2 separate regions of the Homo sapiens genome follow, and region 1 is linked to region 2. The links are contacts of gene promoters, found by promoter capture Hi-C in blood cells and fetal thymus (Javierre and others, 2016). All regions are on one chromosome and are shown on one strand. Each heading gives the region's core, a stretch centred on a gene start or on the middle of the fragment in contact. The rest is flanking DNA. Distances are from core to core; before and after follow the strand shown.

Region 1 (4,913 bases), core at 1,033-3,532, 2.1 Mb after region 2:
TTGAGAGATGACTATAAATACGGTTTGGTGAATGGAAGTGCTGCAGTTGTAAGGTCTGGGAAGCTTAGAGGAAGATTTGGGCAATCAGTTTTTGCTGGGCTAGTAGATCTGAGGGAAGCGACGTACTGGCCTAAGACTTTGAATTAGTGAAGCATTGGGAGTTCGAGAAATAGTTTGCTGGAAAGGAAGGAGAGCCATGTAGAAGAGATAGGTTTTGGAATTTTAGATCGTTAAATGGCTTGTGCCAGGTTAGGGGATACTTGGGCCGAGGAGAAAGAATGAGGTGAACATGGGAGAAGTAATTGCTGGAAAGTGGAGAGAATTGAATAGGCATTTGGTTTTGAGGGGATATTTGTAGTTTCAAACAGGATTCTGGGAATTAGTGACTGTAAAGAGAAAAGGAGTAGGAAAGATACTTAGGTATGAGGGCTCCAGAGTATATTTGGGATTCTAGAGATGAATTGGTAGATATTCTTTGAAAAAGGACTACAGAAGAGAAACCTTAGGTTCTGAAGAAGTAATATGTGTAAAAACTTATCAAAAAGGAGGCGAGAGTAGGAGATGCAGTACTGTGACAGTAAGTCCTAGGGATGAAAAGAAAGGAGAATCCTATAAAACAGTGGGGTAAAGGAATGGGAAAAATGGGTGGAAAAACCAGGGAAGGAAACTAAGAATTGAGTGGAGACCTGCTATGATACGCAGTAGAAAAATGAGAAAACTTTAGCAGGAGGAGATAGAGAGATAGACGCACAATAGAGGTAGAAGGCTACATAGAAGGTAAAGTGAAGATTGTTTTGGCTTTGGAAGACAGAAAAGTTGGACTATAACATGAATAAAGAGAATTTGGAAACTGACCCATAACATTATTTGGGAAAACTAACCTGGAGTTTAATATTAATGTAACATTAATTGTTGTTAAATATCTTAGTTGCTGCCTTTCTTAAAATAAATTTGATTTTTCAGTATACCAGCACCCTTCTATACAAATACATAAGAAAATCAGATTTTTAATAATTATACATTCCTTAGATAAGCTTAATTAGAGCTCAGCTTCTCATCTTGGAGAAACAAGTTCTCTGAAGATTGAAGAACTGAATGAAGATACTGAGAGAAAAAAAAAGGAAAATCTGCTGATTAGAAGATTGTATAATTGTTAGTAATTTATCGTTTTTATTTTTTATTACTTTTCATTTTATTTTTTTTTAGAGACAGAGTCTCACTCTGTTGCCCAGGCTAGAGTGCAGTGGCACAATCTCGGCTCACTGCAACTTCCACCTCCCGGGCTCAAGTGATTCTTGTGCCTCAGCCTCCCAAGTAGCTGGGATTACAGGCATGCACCACCACGCCCGGCTAATTTTTGTATTTTTAGTAGAGAGGGGATTTCGCCATGTTGGCCAGGCTGGTCTTAAACTCCTGGCCTTAAGTGATCTGCCCCACTTGGCTTCCCAAAGTACTGGGATTATAGGAGTGAGCTACTGTGCCTGGACAACTTACCTTTTTAAAAAGATGCTTTGGTCTTCTTGGTTTAGGTTAACTGCTTATCCTGGAAAAGAAAGTTCTTTAGAAAGGCCTTTCTTTATGATAGTATTGTGAAGAGAAGAGCATATATTGGCGAATATTTGTGTGGTCCTCAAATGGCTTATTTTCCCGTATCTTTCTTTTCTACTTTATTGGTATATAAGCAGGCTTCATCTAAGTCTCATGGTAGTAATAATATAGATTCTCTTTCTCCTTAGAATCATAAAGCTGAGAGAAAGCATAGACATGGTCTCATTTCACCACTTCATGTAGTTGAGGAACCCAATATTCAGAGAGTTCTGTATTCTATAAGGGAATGTATTAATAAATGAGGGAACTGAGACTCAGATATTCCTAAGGTACCCTAGAAGCTTAGCGGTAGGGCCGTTAAGGACTAGGACTTGGGTCTCTTGACTGTGAGACCCATTGTGTATTTTGGAGTCATAATTGTCATCTGGGGATACTTATTTTGAGTTGTGTATCTTACTCATTTGCATATAATCTAGGATTCAGTCTTTTTCTTCAGTCGTAATTTATGAAGTCTCACACCAATTTCAAAGCATTCTTTATGTCTCCTTATGCTTACTTGCTTTTTTCTTAACTTCCATTCTTCCACTCTATCTATGTTACTCACAAGTTAGTCCTGTTCTCTTGATAGTCTCTTGTGTGGCTTACTCTTAACTATTTTTCATGATCTCTTGCCTTCAATTTCACTAAACATTATTTAGGCATGTTTGCATATTCAGGGTGCATATTCTGAGTTGGTGATTTTTCATGAGTTTCCATAATTCAGTTTTTCAGATTAGATTTAGTAATTCCAAAGTATTGTTGGATAATTTAATAATAGCAATTTTTAAAGTAAGTACTGTGTGCCAGACATTGTAATGGTAACTTTATGTTATTTAATGTGTCCACAGACCTGCATGGTGAATATTTTCCTGCATTGTGGGTAAAGACATTCAGACCCAGAGATTAAAAGTAACCCAACTAGTAGGTAGCAGAGCTAGGATTCAATCTAAGTTTAGTCTCTAGAATCCATTCACTTTTCAGTACACTAATATTTTCTCTTGGGTAAGGCCTGAAATCCTGGTGTCACTCTTCCTTTTAATAGATGCCAATGGATGTTGCCAAAAACAGTGGTTTTGAACTTCTTTATTAAAGCTTTTAGAGCTACTCTGACTAAAGTAGATTTGAGATCCCTATTTGCTTTGCACCCCTGGTGTGCTTGAGAGAAGTATCTTTTGAAAGTCACTGCTTTCGTATATACTATTACTATTAGAGGAACTATAAAATATTAAAGCCATTCATTATTCAACGTGTTTTTGGTTTATCAGTAGTTGTACTTTTTGGCCAGGTGTGGTGGCTCATGCCTGTAATCTCAGCACTTTGGGAGGCCGAGGCGGGTGGATCACCTGAGGTCGGGAGTTCAAGACCAGCCTGACCAACATAGAAAAACACCGTCTCTCCTAAAAATACAAAATTAGCTGGCGTGGTGGCACATGCCTGTAATCCCAGCTACTCAGGAGGCTGAGGCAGGAGAATCACTTGAACCTGGGAGGCGGAGGTTGTGGTGAGCCGAGATCGCGCCATTGCACTCCAGCCAGGGCAACAAGAGCGAAACTCCATCTCAAAAAAAAAAAAGTTCTACTTTTCTATTATTATCTCTTAAATTCCTTTTTTTTTCTTTTGCAAGAGATAGAGTCTTGCTGTGTTGCCCAGGCTGAAGTACAGTGGCTTTTCACAGGCATAATCTTGGTGCATTACAACCTCAAACTCGTGGGCTCAAGCAGTCTTCCCACTTCATCCTCTTGAGTAGGTAGGACTGAGGATACATGCTAGCATGCCCAGCTCTGTAGTGATTTAACTGACATGTATATAGTAGTCCCTTTTTATATTCTATGAGGTAAACTAGGGCAGGAGTTAATATTTTCTTTTAATAAATGAGAAAACTGAAATGTTCATTGACTTGCCTAAGATCACAGAATCATTATGTGGCAGGAACAACATTCAAACCCAGGACTTCGTATTTTTAGTCCATTGTTCTTTCTATAGCTTGCATTGAAGGGTTTGATATTTGAAGTGACAAAGATCTAAGTTTGAAGCCCAACTTAGGTATTTACATTGGTCGAGTCATTTAACTTCTCATAGTCTATTTTCTTATCTCTAAAATGAGAATACTTCTGCTTACCTGAGAGTGCTGTGAGAATAAGATAATACATAAAAAGCACTTATAGTTCCTGACACTGACACATAAGCTCTTAAAGAATGATAGCTAGTAGATAATTATACATTGAGAACTGTGAAGAAGGTTCATAGTTTATGTGGAAGCTCTCCTTTCAGTTTCTTATGTTATCAGCTTTTTTGTCCCCACAAGCTGTATGTTTATTCATATCTGATTAGATAGTCTTTCATCCATCTTCTTAAATTTATTATGGATATCAGGCCTCTTAGGAAGGCTTTAATGAGCTATTCACACAGATGGGGAAATAAAGGGCAAAGTGAAGTGATTTGCTCAAGGTCACAAATTGAGTTACTAAAATAATCAAATCCCAGTATTTCTGTTTTTTTTTTTATTTTTTCATTAGATTTTTAAAAAGTTAAATTTATATGCCATAGAATTCACTCTTTTAAATGTACAATTCAGTGATTTTTGGTATATTCACTCAGTTGTACAATTACCACCACTAATTGCAGAACATTTTCATCCTCCCATAAACTCGTTACTCATTAGCATCTTCCCTTCCTCCCAGCATGTATTGCTTCTGGATCTTGAGTCACAGAAAGGCTTTTCCTTTTTTTGGGTTATAAAGGAATCATTTATATTTTTTCCTGGTACCTGTGTAGTGTCCTTTTTTTTTTTTTTTTTTTTTTTGAGACAGAGTCTTGCTCTGTCACCGAGGCCGGATGGAGTGCAGTGGTGTGATCTTGGCCCACTACAACCTCCACTTCCCGGGTTCAGGCGATTCTCCTGCTTCAGCCTCCCAAGTAGCTGGGATTACAGGCATGCACCACCACACCCAGCTAATTTTTGTATTTTTAGTAGAGACGGGGTTTCATTATGTTGGCCAGGCTGCTCTTGAACTCCTGGCCCCAGGTAATCCACCCACCTCAGCCTTCCAAAGTGCTGGGATTACAGGCATGAGCCAATTTTTTTTTAATCCATTTGAAGTTTATCTTGATATGCAAAGTGAGGAAAAGAAGACATTTTATTTTTATCCAAAGGCTATCTAGTTGTTTTCATCATTTATTAAATTTTTTAGTCCTTTACCCATTACGTAAATTTCACTACAATAAAGAAATAGTCCTGGCCAGGCTCAGTGGTCCATGCCTGTAATCCCAGCACTTTGGGAGGCCAAGGCATGTGGACCACTTGAGCTTGGGAGTTGGAGACCAGC
Region 2 (5,184 bases), core at 1,044-3,543:
GTACTCATTTTGAGTCTGGACAACACCTTTTGGTATGTTTAGTGTACACTGGGTAAGAGGCTAAATTAAATGACCACACCATATATTAGGTTAATGCAAAAGTAACTGTGGTTTTTGCCATTACTTTCAATGGCAATAACTGCAATTACTTTTGCACAAACCTAATATCTTCTGATCATAGTTTTATCAATTAGACACAGCTGTCCAAACAGCCCCTGATCAGCTCTGTTCAGCCACCTGAGCAGGGCTTTGCCCTCATCCTAAAAGTTCTAGAATTCAAGTCTTATTTCAAGGCATTCTTCCCACTTCCATGTTCCACATGTAAAAAAGAATTCTACGTTTCTTAACGAGCTTTCAGGTAAGATCTTTAAGCTTTTGGAATGTACCGCTTTTCGCTGTGAACTAAGAGCTTAGACATTACAATTAGTCATCCCTTGCTAGAACTTAGGCTACGAAAAGAATACTTTGGAAGCTTTCACAAAAAAGTATGTGGTTCTTCCTCTAAAGAAGAAAATACCACACAGAAAGAGGGACTGAGGAAACATAAACCCATCTGTGCTGACAGAAAGCTACCTTACATGATCCTCATGTTCGCCCCAGGTTCCCATATATTCACAGCAGTAAAGATCTCCACAAAGCAGAGAGGCCCAACTCCCTTACCATTAAAGCTTTAACGACCAGACAACCCAGAAGTTTGGAAACATAGAACCAGGCAACAGATACTAGAGAGAGGGAATTATGTATTAAAGCAAGAAAATATCATCACGTTTTCAAGAGGGAGTGCCATTCCAGTAAAGAGGACAGCTTAATACTGAGGTTCAAATGCCACTAAATGAAAACGGGAAAGCGAAATTCCTGTGCCCTTTCAGCCCAAGAAATTATTCCAAAGCATACATTTATTCCCATTACATGTCGCAAATCCTGCCTAGCCATTAGGATACAGTGACGAAAAAGTCTCTCGTTATCTAGAAGGGCAGACAAACACGCAGACTTTTAAAATACCAGATGGCAGGCCGGGCGTGATGGCTCACGCCTGTAATCCCAAGCACTTTGGGAAGCCGAGGCGGGCGGATCACGAGGTCAAGAGTTCAAGACCGGCCTGGCCAAGATGGTGAAACCCTGTGTCTACTAAAAATACAAAAGTTAGCCGGGTGTGGTAGCGGGCGCCTGTAATCCCAGCTACTCGGGAGGCTGAGGCAGGGAACTGTTTGAACCCGGGTGGCAGAGGTTGCAGTGAGCCGAGATCGCGCCACTGCACTCCGGCCTGGGCGATAGGGCGAGACTCCGTCTCAAAAAAAAAAAAAAATGACAAGTGCTAACTCAGAGGTAAGCAAAAGAGAGTACCCAGAGGCGGCAGCATCAACCCAGTGGGCTCCCGCCCACCCACAATCTTCACACAGTCACACCACTTATAGTCATAAATTTGTACTCTCCGAGGTGCGTGTATGAAACATGTTATCTGTGAGAGTCCATGGATGAAAAACAAAAACAAACAAAAATTAAAAAAAAAAAAAAAAAAGACTTAACCTGTTTTGACCAGGACAACCACCCCAGGAAGTAGGTAAGGCAGGTAAGGTCATTGTTTACATATATGAAAAGTGAGGCTCAAAATACACTGACCAGTCCAAGACAACGCGCGCCCCCACAAAGCACCTTCCCCGTCCCCATTTATGCCCAACCCATAAACCCAAAGTAGAGCCAACCTCGCACTGGCTACGTAACCCGGGCCAAGCTAAACATTATAAACCTCAGGCTCCCCATCTTTAAAGTATAACAGGTGGTTAGAAGATTAAAAAGATAAACATTTGGCAGGTCATTGTGGACGGTGTAGCTCAGAAAATGCTGACTACTGCACTACCATAACTACTGCTATTGTTAACGATAAAAGGCAAAGACTTTCCAGGACCCGACCCCTCGCTTACAAGCCTTTCGGGAACTTGCCCTATACCCCCGACCCCAGTCACCTTCAGATTTAATTCCACAGACACGCCCCCAAACAGACCCTCCCCTTTAAGGCACCCCCCCCCCCCCCGGCTCCTCCCTCTCAGGCGCCTCTCCTCACAAACCTTACCCCCATAGATTCTGCCCTTTCGGACTCGGTTATGGAGGAGGCCTTCCGCTCGCAGCGGCCTCTCCAGCACCCCTTTTAGGCCTGAGCACCCGCAGGGGTGCCCAGGCCGCACGCCAAACGCGGGCCCGCGCCGGTTACCTGGCTGCGCGCTCCCGCTCTGCCTCGCGATTCTCCGGAATCGTACCTCTTCGTGGGCTCGCGCCAGCGCTGTGAGCGCACAATTAGTTTAAACTATGGCCCCGCCCCCTCGCGCTGCCCTCTGATTGGCCTCTGTCGGCGGGGCCCGCTTAAGGACCCGGGAAAAGGAAGTTTGAGGGCCACTGGGAAAGAGAAGGGGTATCACCGCTTCCGGACCCCGGCCTGTACTTGAAGGCAAAGAGAACTACAAATCCCAGCGTCACCCGCGGCCTTGAAGCCCCGCCCCTGACAAACTGAAGGTCCCGGTAAGCATCGCGTCAGTACTTATGGCGCCTGCCGGGTTGTGGTGACGAAAGCAGTTGCCATGGAGTTGCTCTGAGTAACCCTGAGGCAGTGGGACGCCAAGACTGGAGAGGAAGCGACTGCGGGTGAGTCGGGCGGGAAAACAGGAAACCCGTTCTAGGGGACAAGAGATCTATGGAGAAGGGAGGGGCACTCACAGAACGACTAAGAACCTTCCTGCTCGGGGATCTGAGATTTCCCCCACCGACCCTCATCACCTTTCACAGCGAACAAGATACAACACTCACATGGGACAGACTGGGCGAGGGGGAGCAGAGGGAGGGATAGGCGTTGAGATATATATCCATACAGATTTGGGGATGCTTAAGAACCACCCCCAGGGCCGGGAGCGGTGGCTCACGCCTGTAATCCCAACACTGGGAGACCAAGGCGGGCGGACCACTTAAGGCCAGGAGTTCGAGACCAGCCTGAGAAACATGGCGAACCCTGTCTCTACCAAAAACATAAAAAAATTAGCCGGGCTTGGTGGCGCGCTCCAGTGGCCCCAGCTACTAGGGAGGCTGAGGTAGAAGGATCGCTTGAGCCCGGAGATTGAAGCTGCAGTGAGCCGTGATCACGCAACTACACTCCAGCCTGGGCTATAGAGCGATACCTCCATCTCAAAACAAAACAAAACGAAACAAAACAAAAACAAAACAAAACAACGAACCCCGCCCCCAACGCAAACATAAAGCTCCCAAAATCGGATGCTTCAAGTTCCAGGCATAACCTGGGAGATCAGAAACGCCCTCAGAAATGGGGTTGGTTTTCCTCTGAGGAACTGAGACCCTCTTCCAAGACATGCGGTTAGCATTAGATTGAGTAAATCGCAGTCGCTACCCTAATTCTAGAGATGTAGGAAACTTCCTGGGGCGTGAAGTGCCTCATTCCTTCTTCTTCCAAGGAGTAAAACCCCTTCTCAATCTGTCCCCAGATTCCCTTTTCTCCCCACACCTTCTCCGTGGTCCGCTACTCAAAGCTCTACAGTTAGAGCTTCATTTTTTTTAGTACTCACGACAGATCTATTACATTTAGTAACCTACCCAGTGCTTTCACAGTCTCTCTTTTGATACTCTTAACAGCTCTGTGAGTCAAGGATATTTATCTTCATTTCACAGATTGGAAAACTGAAACCCAGAGAAAAGGGACTTGCCCAAGGCCACACACCAAATTAGTGACAGAGCTAGAACTAGACTCCAGTTCTCCGACTTCCAGCTAAGTCTCTTTAGCTTCAGCCTACTGCCTCTATAGCGGAAGGACTTGTTCCAAGGAACAAGTTAAACTGCCCCAGGGAAAAGGAACCTGTGTGGCCTACTTTGTATTATTTACACTTCAGCTGGAATGAATTTCAGATCCTCCCCTGAAACTTTTAATGGGGAAAAGGAACTAGAGAGACTAAGACAATGAGACTTGAACATTTTTAACTAAACAGGAAACAGAAGGGCTAACACAGCACCCATGTCTGAAGTGACCATGATTAGCTGGTTTCTAGCTGGTGACTAGCTGGCCCTGACTGGTCCACTTACTACCTTAAAGTTCTCCCAGGTTTGGTCCTACGCCCTCTTGCCACTGCACTCTATATTCTCTTCTTGGGTACCCCTCCACACCCACAACTTCATTTTCCACCTGTATGCAAATGTACACAAGTGTGTATCTCAAGCCCAGCCCTCATCTCTAAGCTCCAGATCTATATAGCCAATTGCCTCAACATCTCCTTTAGGATACCTCAAAGGCAACCCAAACTCTACATTTCTGAAATTGAAACAATCTCTGTGTATCCCAACCTTTTCCTCCAAGCCTGGATCTCTTCCAGTGCTCCTACCTTTATCCACAATATACCCAAGCCCAAAACCCAAGTTAGTACCTCTTCCATTTACTTAATACCTCTTCCATTTCCCATCTATCACTAAGTCTTATCAGCTTTACTTCCTGAATATCTTTTATATAGGTCCTAGCTACCATCACATCCTTCCTGCCTTCCCTCCCAGCCATATTTGCGCACTGCAACCAGAGTGATCCTTCAAAATGCAAAGCTGATACTGTTCACTCTCTACCCCACCCCCAATTTTTTTTTTTTCTTTTTGAGACAGAGTTTCGCTCTTGCTGCCCAGGCTGGAGTGCAATGGCGCAATCTCGGCTCACAGCAACCTCCACCTCCCGGTTTCAAGCAATTCTCCTGTCTCAGCCTCCCAGGTAACTGGGATTACAGGCATGCGCCACCACACCCGGCTAATTTTATATTTTTAGTAGAGACGGGGTTTCTCCATGTTGGTCAGGCTGGTCTCGAACTCCCGACCTCAGGTGATCTGCCCACCTTGGCCTCCCAAAGTGCTGAGATTACAGGCGTGAGCCGCCACGCCCAGCCAGCCCCCATTTAATATTAATACTATGTGGTTTCCTATTGCTCCCATCTCTCCAGCCTCCAGTCTAACCATACATATTCATCCTTCTCTCCCCTTCAGTTATATAACCTTTAAGGTCTTCAAAATTTCCAAGTACCCTTCCACCATAGAACCTTTGCATATAGCAGTCACATCTGCCTGGAATGCTCATTCCACACCACCCCCTACCCCATAAGTTAATTTGTACTTATCCTTTAGATTTCTCTCAGTCACTTCTTCAGGAATGTCTTC

Evidence for each region. Contacts are between HindIII fragments. The CHiCAGO score rates a contact against its expected background, and 5 or more counts as called.
Region 1: a contact is called between a fragment that was not itself captured here and the fragment with the promoter of NUMA1 in region 2, in 1 of 17 cell types (non-activated CD4 T cells). The highest score is 8.0, in non-activated CD4 T cells.

The regions. Positions count from the first base shown.
Region 1 is chr11:74,172,355-74,177,267 of GRCh38, forward strand. The region is part of intron 1 of PPME1 (protein phosphatase methylesterase 1); the gene reads left to right. Among named protein-coding and RNA genes, the nearest start is that of PPME1, 3.5 kb to the left of the region's middle. The HindIII fragment of the contact is 790 bases long and covers 1,888-2,677 here.
Region 2 is chr11:72,078,249-72,083,432 of GRCh38, forward strand. NUMA1 (nuclear mitotic apparatus protein 1) reads right to left here and starts at 2,294. Exons shown (of 27, transcript NM_006185.4): 1 at 2,210-2,294. It overlaps LRTOMT (leucine rich transmembrane and O-methyltransferase domain containing), which reads left to right and starts at 2,602. Exons shown (of 9, transcript NM_001145310.4): 1 at 2,602-2,637. It overlaps LRRC51 (leucine rich repeat containing 51), which reads left to right and starts at 2,602. Exons shown (of 6, transcript NM_145309.6): 1 at 2,602-2,637. RefSeq lists enhancers at 1,705-2,660, 2,380-2,649, 2,661-3,615. The HindIII fragment of the contact is 5,366 bases long and covers 667-5,184 here.